Linked DNA regions of Homo sapiens: regions 2, 3 and 4 are each linked to region 1. Evidence: promoter capture Hi-C in 16 types of primary human blood cells and fetal thymus (Javierre and others, 2016). All regions are on one chromosome and are shown on one strand. Each heading gives the region's core, a stretch centred on a gene start or on the middle of the fragment in contact. The rest is flanking DNA. Distances are from core to core; before and after follow the strand shown.

Region 1 (3,460 bases), core at 225-2,724:
GGGAAGATGTACTTCCCTATGTTCCTAAAGATGTTCACGCCCTCTAACGAACCTGACCTAGTGAGTACTAAAATCAGTGTCAATCTAACAAACGAAATGCAATTGGCTTGTGTGATGGTGGAGCAGAGTATCTCTGACTGTGGTGGTTATGCAAGGCTGCACGTATGTGATACAACTGCACTGTGCTCTACACACACGAGCGCGTGTATAACTCAGGAATTCTGGATATTGATTGGAGCAATGCCACTTGAAACAATGCATTGGTGCAGAAGTAACTTAGCTAAATGTCCCCAGAACATCGCATCCGGAGGCTATCTGTATAGTGCACACACTTCATTGTTTGGTAACATTCTCTTTGGTTATATTCTACACTATTCCGTGCTCTAGAAAGGGAGGTGACTGCCCCGACCAGTTAACCCACAAGGGCAGGAACGAGGGACTCTGCAGGTCATCTGCGTTATAAGGGAAAGTTGGGCAGGAGGTCCCTGCCGCTGAGCAGGCCTGGGGTGAGAACTAGGAGCTGAGAACAGCTACGGTGTCCAAGGGGACGGAGAAGCACAGGGAACTCGCTACGACTCTGCGAGTAGAGGGGAGGCGGGGTGTCTTTCCGCTCCACACCTACCAGTCGGCCTTCTTCAGGCAGTCGACCGCTGCCCCCCGGCCCAGCAGGTAGCGCACGCAGTCTCGGTGGCCCATGGAGGCCGCCTCGTGCAGAGGCCGCTTGTAGTCTCGGTTGGTGGCCTCGATGTCCATGCCCCAGGCCTCGGCCAGATAGGCCAGCACGTCCCGATGCCCGTGGCGCGCGGCGCAGTGCAGGAGGGTATCCCCGGCCGGCCCCGGGCAGCCCCCGGCCGCCTGCAGCTCCTCCTTCAGGGCGCGCAGCCGGCCCTCCTGCACCAGCCTGCAGAGGCGCCGCGGGTCCCCGGGCTGGGCCATCGCCGCGGGTCGGGCCGGGCTGCGCGGGGAGGCGGCGGGCGGGACACCGGCGGCCGGGCAGGGAGAAGCCGAGGGCGAGTGGGACTTTCCGCCTCTTCACGCAACCTGCCCCGCGCGCCCCGAACCCGGCAGAACCGCCCCTCACGCCCCCGGCTTTGTCCCCGGCAGAGCCGCCTCCTCAAACCCCCGGCCTAGTCCGCAGGCGGGCTGCCCCCTCACAGCCCCGGCCTGCCCCGCGTGGGAGAAGCCGCGGTTCCGGGCACGGGGCGGTTTTTCCTCAGGGACGGAGCGGTCCGGGATGAGCACGGAGGGGCCTGGGGATCCGAGAGCGCTGGCGTCCGCCGTCCTGGAGCTGCAGCGGCCCGTACGTGATTCGGGACTGAACACGTAAGGGAGTGGGGCGCGCCGCTACACCGCAAAGCCCCAAAGTGGAGGGTCCGGGAGGGCGCGCACAGCCTCGCCCGGCGCCGTGCAGGGTGGCTCCTGAGGCAGCCAGGCCCAAGCGTGACCTGCCCCGCACGCGTCCTCAGGGCCGCCCCAGCCTCCAGCCCCTGGGGGCCGGCGTTCCTGGGCTCCGCCCCCGTCCCCGCCCCTCGACCGCCGCTGCTCCGCGGGGACTCGGGGAGCTCGAAGGAACTCTGGGAAAGTTTCCCGCTCCGCCCCGGCCCGAGCGGAAGCGCGGATGGGGCGTGGCCCGGTAGCTGTGGCCGCGCCCCCACCGATTGCGCATTTCGATTGGCGTTAGTGGCCGTCCGTCAGCACGCCCCCTCCGGTCTCGCGTCCCGATTGGTCGCGGGGGCCGTCAGTCCGGCTCCGGCGGCGGGCGCTTCCCGGGGCTGCGGCGGGGCGGAGCTCGCGGAGGAAGTCGGCGGGCGTCTCGGGCTCCAGGTCCCGGCCAGAGGAGGAGCTCGCTGCCGGGGGACGCTGGGCTGAGCGGCCGGCGGCGCGGGCCCGGCGGCGGCGGCAGCGGGGTCCGGGTCCGGAGCGCCACAGTGCGTGAGGCCGCAGACGTGGCAGGGAGTGTGGGAGGGGCTCCGCCGTGTGGAAAACTTAACCTCCGGGGTCCTGCGCGGGGGGTCCGGGCCCGGGGTGGGGCAGCGGGGGCCCCGGGGGCGCGAGGCTGGGCTCGGGCAAGCGCGGGCGTGGGGGCTCGGCCGTCCGGGCCGTGGGCAGGTGGAGGGCGCGGCGGGGGTGCGCGGGGGAGGCCAGGGCGCTCACTGAACTCGGTCGGGAGCGGCCCCCGCGCTGCCCCCCGAGGCCAGGAAGGCGCAGCGTGTGGGTCCTCGGGGCTGAAGGGGCAAGCGCGGGGACGTGGCCTCGGCTGCTAGGAGGCCAGGCTTTCCCGTCTACTCTGACGTTTTGACCTTGGGCAAGTCATTTTTCGCTGCCCTCTGCCCCTGTGTCATCGGTAGCTTCTCTGCCCCTCCTCTGAGCATGGGAAGCCTAAGGCGATGTGGGAGGCCTGGCGCTGGTGGAGGGCACGGCGAGAGCTGGGCAGGCTGTGGGTGATGGAAGAGATCAGTAGGTGTTGGGTTCCTTACCCGATCTGATTAGGTGCCAGTCACTTAACCTCTCCATGTTTTCGATTCCTTTAGGGAGTAGAATGGGAGTAGCTCCTATTTGCCAGGCCTAAAAACGAGTGCCGTTTACATTTTTTATTGCAGTCTGTGGTCCGAAGACAACCCTATGAGGCATCAGTAGGGTTTTACAGGTGGGGAAGTGGAGGCCTAACCAAGTCAGTGACTTTCTTACAGAATTACAGGTAATAAAGTCTTCTGGAAGGCAGGATGGTAGCATGTGTTGAGTGTCCGCCAGCGTCTGCCGCTGTGGTAAAATGAGCGGAGATAAATGAAAAGACTTCTGGAATGGGCCCATGAAGATAAGTCCGTTTTACTCATGAGCAGATTGAGTTTGGTTAAGGTAACAGTGATGTGGATAGCCTCTGGAGACAGAACTAGTCCAAGTACCAGCTTTGCTCAGGTTATTGTTCTGTCGTGCCTTGTCACTCCAGCAAAAGAAAAAAAGGAAGGCATAAAAGTTGTTTGAAATGCACAAAAGTGTAGGGCGTGCCAAGCAGTGTTCTGCTGCCGTTGAAGTTAGTGCAAATTGGAAGTTGAGGCATCTGGTAGCTTCATGCTTTTTGCTTTTACCCCTGCCCCTCTCCCAGTTTCAGATGACTATCTTCTCTTGCATTATGTCTCTAGTTTCCCTGTTTTTTAAACATAATTGGGACACACGGGTTCACAGTAGGTTGGAATATATATATATATTTTGAGACAGAGTCTCGCTCTGTTGCTCCGGGTGGAGTGCAGTGGCACGATCTCGGCTCACTGCAACCTCCCCCTCCCGGGTTCAAGCAATTCTCCTGCCTCAGCCTCCCGAGTAGCTGGGATTACAGGCGTGTGCCACCATGCTCGGCTAATTTTTTTGTATTTTTAGTAGAGACGGGGTTTCACCATGTTGGCCAGGCTGGTCTTTAAACTCCTGGCCTCAAGTAATTCACCCAGCTCGGCCTCCCAAATGC
Region 2 (3,212 bases), core at 441-2,940, 180 kb before region 1:
GAAGAATACTGGCCTAAAGTGGAAGCATTTTTAACCATAAATAAATAGTTCTGGAAATAAAAATATATATAAGCAAAAAATAATTTGGTACTTGTTCCTCCTCCTTCGTTTTAAATCATTGGCTTTATTTATAGCTATATAGGGAACAGTATTCCCCACACTGGTGTTAATGAAGTGTTCTCTGACCATGTATTTGGGAAACCCTGTATTAGTGTTTTTAATTGCACCATCTCTTCAGTTTTCAGTTCATTATTGTGCATTATGATGCTCAAAAATGAGGACGTATGTAACTTAAATCTGTGCCTACCTATTAATGACTTACAGAATTTAGAGAAGTTGATAATCACAGTCTTCATTTCCAGAGTTACTTTTTAAAATATTTCTTTCAGTGTAAACAATGTGTTTCTCAAATATTGGTCTATAGGTAATTCAATTTTGAAACTTTCTTGCTTTTTTATAAATATCAAATATAAAGTTCCCAAAATTATTGTTTCTAAAGAAATCTTGATTTGTGTTTAGGCTAGCAGTACAGATTATTTGTAAAATGAATTTGAAAATGCTCAGGTTTGCCAGTTTGTTTTGAGTAATGCAGCTAATAAAGCTTTAATTTTAACTCTTATAACTGGTGTTTTGCTATTTGCATCTATTCAGAATATCCCTATTTTTTAAAGCACTGGTATATTGAAGGAGAAAGTGAAACTGAGCAAAAGTAAAAGTAAAACTTAGAATGAATATATAAATCATGTATATCAACTTCAGAATATTCGTAAACATTTCATTCTTTTCTATTTACAGTCTTTCATTTTGATACTTGGAAGTTTATTAAAAGATTTTTTAAATGCCTTGATAATTAAAGTATTAGGACAATTTAGTCTAAATTTAGCTTACTAAAATGTTTGCTTTCATTTCTGAGATAGTCTAGTTTTTGTATATTGGTTACTTACAAGTTAGTTTTAATTGAGATTCTTTTTTCTCTTTAATTTTTGAACTTTAATACATTTGGCAGTTTTGGTAAAAGTAGGAAGCCATATTACTGTACTTCATAACATTTATACTATATGACCAGTACTTCCAGTGCTATATAAATCATTCTCTTCTCCTTATTGTTTATAAATACTAGGTTTGTAAAACCCCCCAACCTTAATAAAGAGAATAGAAAGAGTACAAATAGGAGAGTGAACAGTTAAAATGGTTAGATGCAAGAGTGTCCGTAGGTCATTAGGCTCAGTTCTTGCTAAAGTAGAGACTTGTAAAATCAAAAGGCACAAAGAGTCAGTCAACATAATTACTGGATCCAGTCGGTAATTCTCAATTAGGAAACGTGCCTCTCATGGGAAGGGTGTATCACAGTCCCTCAAAGCTATCTCACATGGGTATGGTTTGAAAAAAGCACCTTCAAAAAATTGTAAGTACAGCTCTGTTGTATAAAATGAAAGAAAGTGATTTTATAATACAACTCACAGGAAGTAAAACTCAATAGACTCTTCTTGACGGGTGAGGAAATCCCAGAGATACAATGATTTCTATTGTGTCTGGTGAGTGGGCAATAGTAGGTCCCTTAAAAGGGACCTAGCTGACTTAGGGATTTAATGAAAATATGTAAAGAGTAAGTTTATCAAGTGTGGCGTATATATTTAAAAAAAAAAGAATAGAAACAAAGGATGAAAAAAACTAAAGAATGAGAAATTGCTCTAAAAGTCTAAGCAGCTCCTGACCACCACCTTGACACTACAGTTGTATCCACTTTTGACCAACTACAGTTATAGTACACAGCTTTCAACCAAAAGACATACCAGGTCTGGCAGGACATATTTTAGCTCCTGTACTAAAAGTAATTCAGCTTCAGTTCTAATTTATTTAGGTTATTTTCTTTACATCAGAGGTCTTTTAAATTTTGTTAAGACAGTACAAATATTTCTTAGTTATATAGGAAAGGAATAGGTGATGTTTTGAGTGATATTCAGTGTGTCTCCCTTAACCCCATCCTTTGGAATCTTAAATAGCTGCGTTATTTTTGTTTGTGTTTTACAGTTTTTGAGACAGTGTCCTTGAGTTCAGACTCTCTCTTCCAGAGGGCAGTTTCACTCCTCCATACTTCTTACTTGGACTCTTCATCTGAGCATGGTTTTCAGTACAGTCAAGTGACTTTGGTGAAAAATGACATTTTCTTAAATGAGGTGAGGTGCTTGGTACACACTATGATGGTTTTGTTTTAGTTTTAAAAGAGGTAAACCCATCATTTTTGGTATATAAGCCTAGCACTTTTTAGCTATAATTTTTCAGACGCAGCAGATCCTTGGAAATAGTCACTTGGAAGGTAATTATTCTAGGGAATAGAAAAATAATGCATTTATGTTTAGTCTTAATGGCAGGAAGAATTCAAATGATGCATTTTTAAAAATTTGCAAGACAAAATAGTATGTTTATAGCGTTTGGTTATTCTGTTCTCTCTTTATACAGTACAAAACTTTTTACCAACAAAAAAAAGCAAGTAGTTATACTCAGGAAGAACTTCAAGACACTTACGGGTTTCTTCTGTTTGATACTGAAAAGCAGGTAAGGGAATTAGGTTGTAGAAAATTAATGGTATCATTAGTCTTAAGTATTGTGGTACTTCAGTTCTGTAAGAGTTGTAAGATTACCAATTCATCAGTGTTTTTTGTTGCTTAGTTTGGTGGCATGTAAATGACAGCAACAAAAAAGCCAGTCATGAAGGAGATTTGATTTGATTTCTACAACTTTTCACGGTTTCTCTTTAGTTTTATCTGAAATACATTTGTAAGCTTAGGGTGCAATTTGGATTAAAACAGTTTTCTTTAGTGTCAATAATGGCCTTTACTAGAGTGAATGGATATTTTTCCATTCTGGATTATCGTTTAATCGAAACTTTGTTTCCTGTGGAAATTTTTCTGGTTTAAGTTATTTGATTTGGGAGATAAATCATGTAACTTAATAAACTTTGGCATCCTGGTTAACTGAAATTGCTTCATTCAATATTTGAAGACTGAAATCTGTATTGTTGCCTGTACCTAAATTATGGGAGAAGGAAAGGACCGTGTACAGGGTAGGTCTCCAAAGATATGTATGGCTTCCGAGATACATTTTAAACAATACCAGAGATCTAAAATAATTCAAAGTTAGTGCTTCGATTAGGTTAATGGTTTATAAAGAAGGGGGGCAGATTTGTTTAGCGGATAATTAGCACTAACATA
Region 3 (3,623 bases), core at 998-3,497, 160 kb after region 1:
TTCAGGCACTGTGGGATTGATGGAGTGGACAGCATAGAGCAGAGAGCTTACGGTTGTAGGTTACGTGGTACCAAAAGCCCATGCCTGTGCTCCAGGGACTGTTCTCAGACACATAAATGCAACCTCAAGGCTTTTGCTGAGTTTAGTCTTTGTATTCATCTGTGAGTGGGTCAAAATGCCTGTCTGCTGCCCTGGCCCTCTTCTGCAGCCATGCTGAGAGGAAATACAGGCTTGCATTTCTCCAGAGTTCCTTGAAAGCATTGGTGCTCAACTATCCCTGCCTTAACACAAATTCTTAGTCAACACACAACATTTGATCTCTGATAGTTTCAGTGGGTGGGTTCTATTCTTTTCAACAGATACCTCAGGGTTAGTGGGGGTGAGCTCAGATGCTCCTGCAATGGGCATTCACACTGGGCTTCTTGGAGAGCTGAATTCCAAGGTGGCCACGTTTCCTAAGGACATGGGAACTTAAGATGCAGGCAGGGATCCCATGTCCTACTGGAAGGTTTAAAGACTTCCTCAGCACAGTGCTGAGAAGATCCTGCTTTTTACTCGGGTGTGGGACAAGTAGTTATGAAGCCACAGAATGTTAGGACTGAAAGGGACAAAGACCCTCTCCATGTCTCTGCATGCTTGCATGGAGAACATGCATTGTCCAAGGACCCTCAAATCCCTGCATGCCCTGCGCATGCCCTAACCCTGAGGAGGTGCTGAACCCTTGCTGATGTGCAGAAGGGGTTAATCAGACCATGTGGACACAGGTAGCCCAAGGAACAACCCCCATGCCAACAGCACTCCATCCCGACCTCATACCATGTGCACAGCACCTGATGCTGGTGGGGTCAGGAGTGTGGCCTGTGCCACACTCAGAACGCGGGATGAACATAGAGGAAACACTAGAATGGCAAAGGCTGGTTGTCACCTGGGGGCCTCAGAAGCCACGGCACCAGAGGAGAGCTCAGGAGTCAGCCTGCTCCAAAGCTCTTCCTGCCTGTAGCATGCACCCTGTGCCTCCGGGCCACCAAAAACAGCAATCACGTCAGCTGAGACGCAACACACTGCATGCCGAACACACAGGAGAGCTCACACGCACAAATGTTCTCGGCTTCCCAGACACCAATGAAGGAGCTTATTATGAATATGAAGGATAATTAACGTATCTATTATTTTATTAGACATCACAATTCAAATACAATAAAGTATATAAATATAAATATATAATAAATGAAATATATAAAATACCATCTTAGCTTATGAAATTATCTTATATGATAAAATAATTATACAGATATATAATAAGCAATTAGGGTATGTTATATAAAATACTATAGTATACTCATTAATATAATTAGTATATTATATGATAAATATATATAATAAAAGACATCATACACTAATAGAGTATAATAGTCAATATAATTAAAATTATTACTTATGCAGTAATTAATTATGAGGTGATGTGTTCTTCTCATCTCCGTTCTCTAGAGGCAGGAACTAAGGCACAGAGAGGCCCAGTGACTTGCCCAGAGACACACAGCCCCTCAGTGGTGGAGCTAGGACTTGGACCCAGGCAGCCTGACAAGTGCGTGCTCTTACGCACAAGTGTCTGCCTGTCCTCCCGCCTATCCTCCCTCATGTGCTGGCTGCATCCTGCTCCCGTGGCCCCTGACCCTCAACTGCCCTTGTCATGTGCCCGTCATGCATCACAGGAAGGCTGTCATGGGAGTCCTGAGGTGGGTGGTGATAAGTAAGCAAGAAGAGGGGTTGCTGGCGTTAAGAGATTTTAGAAGTTGGAATTGCCAAAAATTGAGGCTGGATTATTAGGTGCATGGAGGACAGCAAGGAAGAAATGAGGATTTTGCCCAGATTTCCTGGGCGATGGGGAGGATGGGGTGCCATTCATTGAGATAGCAAAGAGAGGAGAAAGAGTAGGTTCCAGGGAGGGAGGACAGTTCTGGATGTGTAGACTGAGCAGCCTGTGAGGCATCCACACGGAAAGGTCCGAGGGAAGGGCCTTTGGCCATGCAGACTAGAAGCCCAGCAAGTCACATTTAGTGAGCACCTACTGTGTGCTCTGGTCACTCTAGGCAGGCTAGCTTATGTAGCCTTACAGCACCCAGCAGGGTCTGTGTTATTCCCATTTTATACGAACAGAAGCTGAGGCCCACCGAGGTTAAAACCCTACCCTCATGGACTTCCATGGAGGTTACTCAATGCCCTATGGGTTTGCCTTTCTGCTTCCCTTCATTCTTCACATAAACCCAGTGCTTTCTCTTCTTCCTTCATTCTTCACATAAACCCAATGCTGTCTCTCCAAAGTACAAGCCATGCCCTGACTGAGACCCCTCTGGGATGTTCTGTTCCTTCCAGGACACAGTTTAAGCCCAGTGACATGGGGAGACTCCAAGACACAGCTCATGCCCAACTTCAAAATCTCTGCTTCCACTATGTGCCTGAGCTCTCCTGCCTTGCGGGACTCTGCGTGGCTCTTGGAGCTCACCATGTGTTTTGTCTTGGGCCTTGGTCATTGTATTATTCAGGGAAACAGAATTTCTCTAGAGAAACAAAACCAATAGGATGTATGTAGATAAATAAGAGAATATTTATAATGGGAGTTGGCTCACTCAATTATGGAGGCTGAGAAGTCCCACAATATGCCAGCTGGAGCTGGATAACTAGGAAAGCTGGTGGTGTGGCTCAGTCTAAGACTGAAGGCCTGAGGAGCAGAGGGGCCCTGCTGTAAGTCCCAGAGTCCAAAAGCTGGAGAACCAGGAGTGCAAATGTCCAAGAGCAGACGACGGATGTCCCAGCTTGAACAGAGAGAATGCAACCTTCCTCTGCCTTCTTGTTCTATTCTGGTCCTCTATGGTTGGATGATCCCCACCACACTGGTGAGGGTGATTTTCTTTACTCAGTCTACCAACAAGAAATTTACCCAGTCTATTCAATTCAAATGCTAGTGTCTCCTGGAAATACCCTCACAGACACCCCCAGAGAGACTGTTTAGCCAGCTATCTGGGCATCCCTTAGCCCAGGCAAGTGGACACATTGAAATTGACCATCATGCTCATGCCACACTTCCCTAATGCATTTCTACCTTCTTAACTCCTGCTTTCCCTGGAGGTCTCCCATTGGCTGTCATCTTTCTCTGGGAAGCCTCCGGGACTCTTCTGTCTGTGCTTTGTGGCATTTCTCTGCAGTCCCAGACTTTGCTCCCTTTTCTTTACACGGCACTCACCCTACTGTATCCATCTCCCTCCCACCACCTTGCTAGTGCCTGCACAGAATGGCATGCAAAGGTTTTCGTAAAGGAAAGTAGAAATTCACAAGTTCAAGCTAGGATTTGAATTCAAGCTGTCAACTTTCCAAATTCATAAGACTTTTCCATTCTCTCAAGACGCTTTTCTGGTTGGGAAAAATTCCGGTAGGCAGACAAGATGGGGAAGATTGTTCCAGTAAGGGAGGAGGGTGTTCCTGGGAGTCCAGCTTTGAAATCACAAATGAGGAGGTTCCCTTTGAAGGACAGGAGGAGACCTGCTGGCCAAGGCGTGCTATGTGCTGAGGGAACAGTCTTGGCTGGGGAGCATGTTGTGTGCCAGGCAGAGGAGGTAGCAAAGTGC
Region 4 (3,389 bases), core at 348-2,847, 200 kb after region 1:
GAAAGAAGGAAAGAAGGAAAGAAGGAAAGAAGGAAAGAAGGAAAGAAGGAAAGAAGGAAGGAAGGAAGGAAGGAAGGAAGGAAAGATTTCTGAAATGGCCGAAGCTGCTTAGAGATATACATGCCTGTAATCCCAGCACTTTGGGAGGCCGAGGTGGGCGGATCACCGGAGGTCAGGAGTTCGAGACCAGCCTGGCCAACATGGTGAAACCCCGTCTCTACTAAAAATACAAAAAGTAGCCGGGCATGGTGGCGGGCACCTGTAATCCCAGCTACTTAGGAAGCTGAGGCAGGAGAATCGCTTGAACCCGGGAGGCGGAGGTTGCAGTGAGCTGAGATTACTCCATTGCACTCCAGCCTGGGTGACAAGAGCAAGACTCCGTCTCAAAAAAAAAAAAAAAAAAAAAGATACAAAAAAGGAGACAAAAATCATTCTCCACGGTGCACCGAAAGCATCCCTACACACAGAATCCTTGGGAATACTTGTTTTTGATCAAATTATAATCTGATCAAATTGTCTTAACTAGCTTGTCTTCCCTCCAGGGCCCACACCCCTTTCTTTTCCTGTTTCGGGGTCCCCCGGTTCCATCCATGCTGCATACTGTAGCATTTCACCCAGCCTTTCCTGCCAGCCCAAACACCGCCCTTATCTTCTTTCTTCCTGGAACATCTGCCCTGCTAATTCCCAGTTTCCGATGAATTCTACCATCTGCTGCCTGCCAGCCTCCTGCCAGGCGCTGAGCACAGCTGGAGCAGATCACACGACTTGTTTACGCAGGAGTCACTACCGATGTTTGCTCTGCAGCCCCGAGGGGGCGCTCCAGCGCGTCTGTCTTGTCCCTCTTCTAAAGCTCCACCGTTTTGTGTGCGCTTTCTGATAGTTGCATGGCCTGGGTTCTGTTCCCCCATTGGGTTAAGCTTTGGATTCTCGGTGCATAAAATAAAGATGATATTTGTTACTATTGACAGGAAATGGAGGCAAGCATGAGACTGCTCACGTACTAGGAAATGAAGTAAGGCAGTTTTCCTCCTGGAAGTTAAACTAGAAAATTCCTAAACAATGGATGTGATTGCATCTATGGTCTGTAAACCAAAAAGTTACTTGTGTATGTATGATGGAATGATTTGGGAACAAAGGCACAAATTTTCAACCAAAAAGGGAGGAAGGAGTGGTCTCAGACTGCAGAGTGGAGACGCCAAGCAGATTAGGGAGTACAGGTAGACAGCAGGTTCAACCTGGAGGAAGTCCTGCAGCTCTGGACCTCCTAATCAGGGCTTTTGCACCCCCACCGGTGCTTTGATCACGGGGTGGGGAGAGACCCAGTCTAGACACCTTCTATCTTTGCCCTTCTTCCTTTTTCTGTTTACACGCTATTACTTTCTGCTTCTTTTATTGACCAAGTACGTCCTTCTGCTTCTCACATTTTTATTTTATTTCCAGTTTCTTGCACAAGTGCTTAATTCATTTAGCTTTTTCCAAGTTTTTAATTGATACAAAAACTTAAAACCATGAATTTTCCTCTTAGTACTCTCTGAGCTAAATCCCATGAGTATGTCATTTTCATACTTTTCTAGATATTATGTTATTTTGATTTTGTTTTCCTTTTTAGTCCAAGTGTTATTTAAGCATTTAAAAATTTTCAAGGGGTAGGCATGTTTTATTTTCTGTTTTTTCATTAATTTCTACTTTTATTGAATTGCTGCAGATAATATTACCGATATGATTCTACTTATTGGACTATGTTAAGATTTTTCTCTGTGGTTTAAAATATGACTAATTGTTGTGAATATTCCTTAGACACTGGAAAAGATGTAATGTCTATTTAGGGGACAGTGTTTGATATATTAGATCTATCATAGGAATTGTATTTTTAGGTCTTCTCAATCCCCATTTACTTTTTGTACTCTTCGTCTGGCAAGGAGTGTGCCAATTATTTCTGTCTATTCACTCACTCCTACAGTGTTTGCTATGAATAATGAGATTATGTGATTTGGTGCAAAGATTTTCCTATTTTTCCTATTTTTTTCTTGATTGTGAATTGTGCTCCTCAAGATTATAAAATGTCCTTCTTAATCTTACTTAATGCTTTTTGCCCTGAAATCAACTTTGTAGTAAGCGGTTTGTGATTCCTGATTTTTTTAATTTTTTTGCATATTCCTGGTATATCTTTTCCAATCTTGTATTTTCAAACTCAGAATAACGTTAGCACTTTCTTGTATACAACACTGAGTTGCATGATGGTTTGTGCTCCTATCTGAGATTGTAGTTTTTTAGTAGGTAAGCTTAGGTCTATATTTCTTCTTGTGAGACATTTGGTCTTGTTCTGTCATATAGTTTGGTTACGCTTTCTGTTTTGTAACTTTTTAAAATATTTCCCTATATATATATTTTTTTTGCTGTGGTTTTGTGTGTGTGTGTGTGTGTGTGCATGCATGTATGTGTGGGTGCATGTATGTGTGGATTATTTGAAAGCTTTGTAGTTTTGTTCTGGGTTACCCTCAGAATCATACCATCCCATGACGTCCTTAATCCTCTATTTCTTTAGATTGTCTTTTGTCTCTCCACTGTATTTCTTTTTTCCCCCTTTTCCCGTTTTCTTAATGACTGGATTTTAATGGATTATAGTAACTTTCTTGGTATACTCCTTCGGACTAAGACGTCTGCTTAAATCTCTACTATTTGATTTATCGGCTTGAACTCTATTTGACACCCAATTAATTACAGATGTAAAAATCATATTTACCCGAAGTCCCACTTTCCCTTTCCCTCCCTGCTTCTGTCAGCGACGTCGTTTTTAAAGACCGAGGCTTTATAGCATTGACATTCTTTTCTGTACCCCTAATCGCGGCATCTGTTTCCATAATCTTACGCTTAACCTCGTGCTCCTTGCCATCCTTTTGCAGCATCTGGCCTATGCAGACTTATTTTCAACTTTTTGCTTATATAGGAGTGGCTTTGAATGAATGAGATCGAGGGGCCTGGAGGGACTTCCCCCACCTCCCCTATCAGAAAGCCCGGCCTCGGACCACTTCTCCTCCTCACCATCTGGGGGCGCTGCCGCGCTCCCCAAGCCTTGTGGAATTTCGAAAATGTGCGCCAGGGCGACACCTCTTGATGGTAAGAAGACGCCGGCGGAGGGGAGCGTGCAGTGCGGTCCTCCCGCGGGCAGGGGGCAGTGCGGCAAGGCGCCCTCGGCGCAGGCGCAGAGGCCGAAGCAGGCGCAGGCGCAGGCGGGGCGCAGGCGCGGGCGCGCTCTCCCGGCAGCCCGCGCTCCCTGACCCCGCGCCGCCGAGCGCCCTGAGGACTCAGCGAAGGGTGGGCGCCGCCGAGGCCTCCTGCCGCTGGCGGGTTTCCGCGGAGTGCCGCCCGGCTCCGCTCTGCCGCCGGCG

The links. The method cuts DNA at HindIII sites, captures the fragments that hold promoters and counts their contacts. A CHiCAGO score of 5 or more calls a contact.
Region 2: a fragment that was not itself captured here is called in contact with the fragment with the promoter of ANKRD16 in region 1 in 1 of 17 cell types (total B cells); the score reaches 5.2 in total B cells.
Region 3: a contact is called between a fragment that was not itself captured here and the fragment with the promoter of ANKRD16 in region 1, in 1 of 17 cell types (naive B cells). The highest score is 5.0, in naive B cells.
Region 4: a contact is called between a fragment that was not itself captured here and the fragment with the promoter of ANKRD16 in region 1, in 3 of 17 cell types (total B cells, megakaryocytes and naive B cells). The highest score is 7.1, in total B cells.

The regions. Positions count from the first base shown.
Region 1 is chr10:5,888,419-5,891,878 of GRCh38, forward strand. It overlaps ANKRD16 (ankyrin repeat domain 16), which reads right to left and starts at 1,475. Exons shown (of 8, transcript NM_019046.3): 1 at 623-1,475. The coding sequence starts at 936. FBH1 (F-box DNA helicase 1) reads left to right here and starts at 1,825. Exons shown (of 21, transcript NM_178150.3): 1 at 1,825-1,928. The coding sequence starts at 1,928. RefSeq lists silencers at 758-1,037, 1,048-1,157, 1,298-2,017, 2,208-2,257. The HindIII fragment of the contact is 13,083 bases long and covers 1-3,460 here.
Region 2 is chr10:5,710,363-5,713,574 of GRCh38, forward strand. TASOR2 (transcription activation suppressor family member 2) reads left to right here. Exons shown (of 22, transcript NM_001321783.2): 2 at 2,461-2,556. Among named protein-coding and RNA genes, the nearest start is that of TASOR2, 27 kb to the left of the region's middle. The HindIII fragment of the contact is 2,182 bases long and covers 600-2,781 here.
Region 3 is chr10:6,046,449-6,050,071 of GRCh38, forward strand. All of the region lies in intron 1 of IL2RA (interleukin 2 receptor subunit alpha), which reads right to left. Among named protein-coding and RNA genes, the nearest start is that of IL2RA-AS1, 13 kb to the left of the region's middle. The HindIII fragment of the contact is 9,510 bases long and covers 1-3,623 here.
Region 4 is chr10:6,085,772-6,089,160 of GRCh38, forward strand. It overlaps RBM17 (RNA binding motif protein 17), which reads left to right and starts at 3,263. Exons shown (of 12, transcript NM_032905.5): 1 at 3,263-3,389. RefSeq lists an enhancer at 2,915-2,964 and a silencer at 3,125-3,389. The HindIII fragment of the contact is 1,365 bases long and covers 916-2,280 here.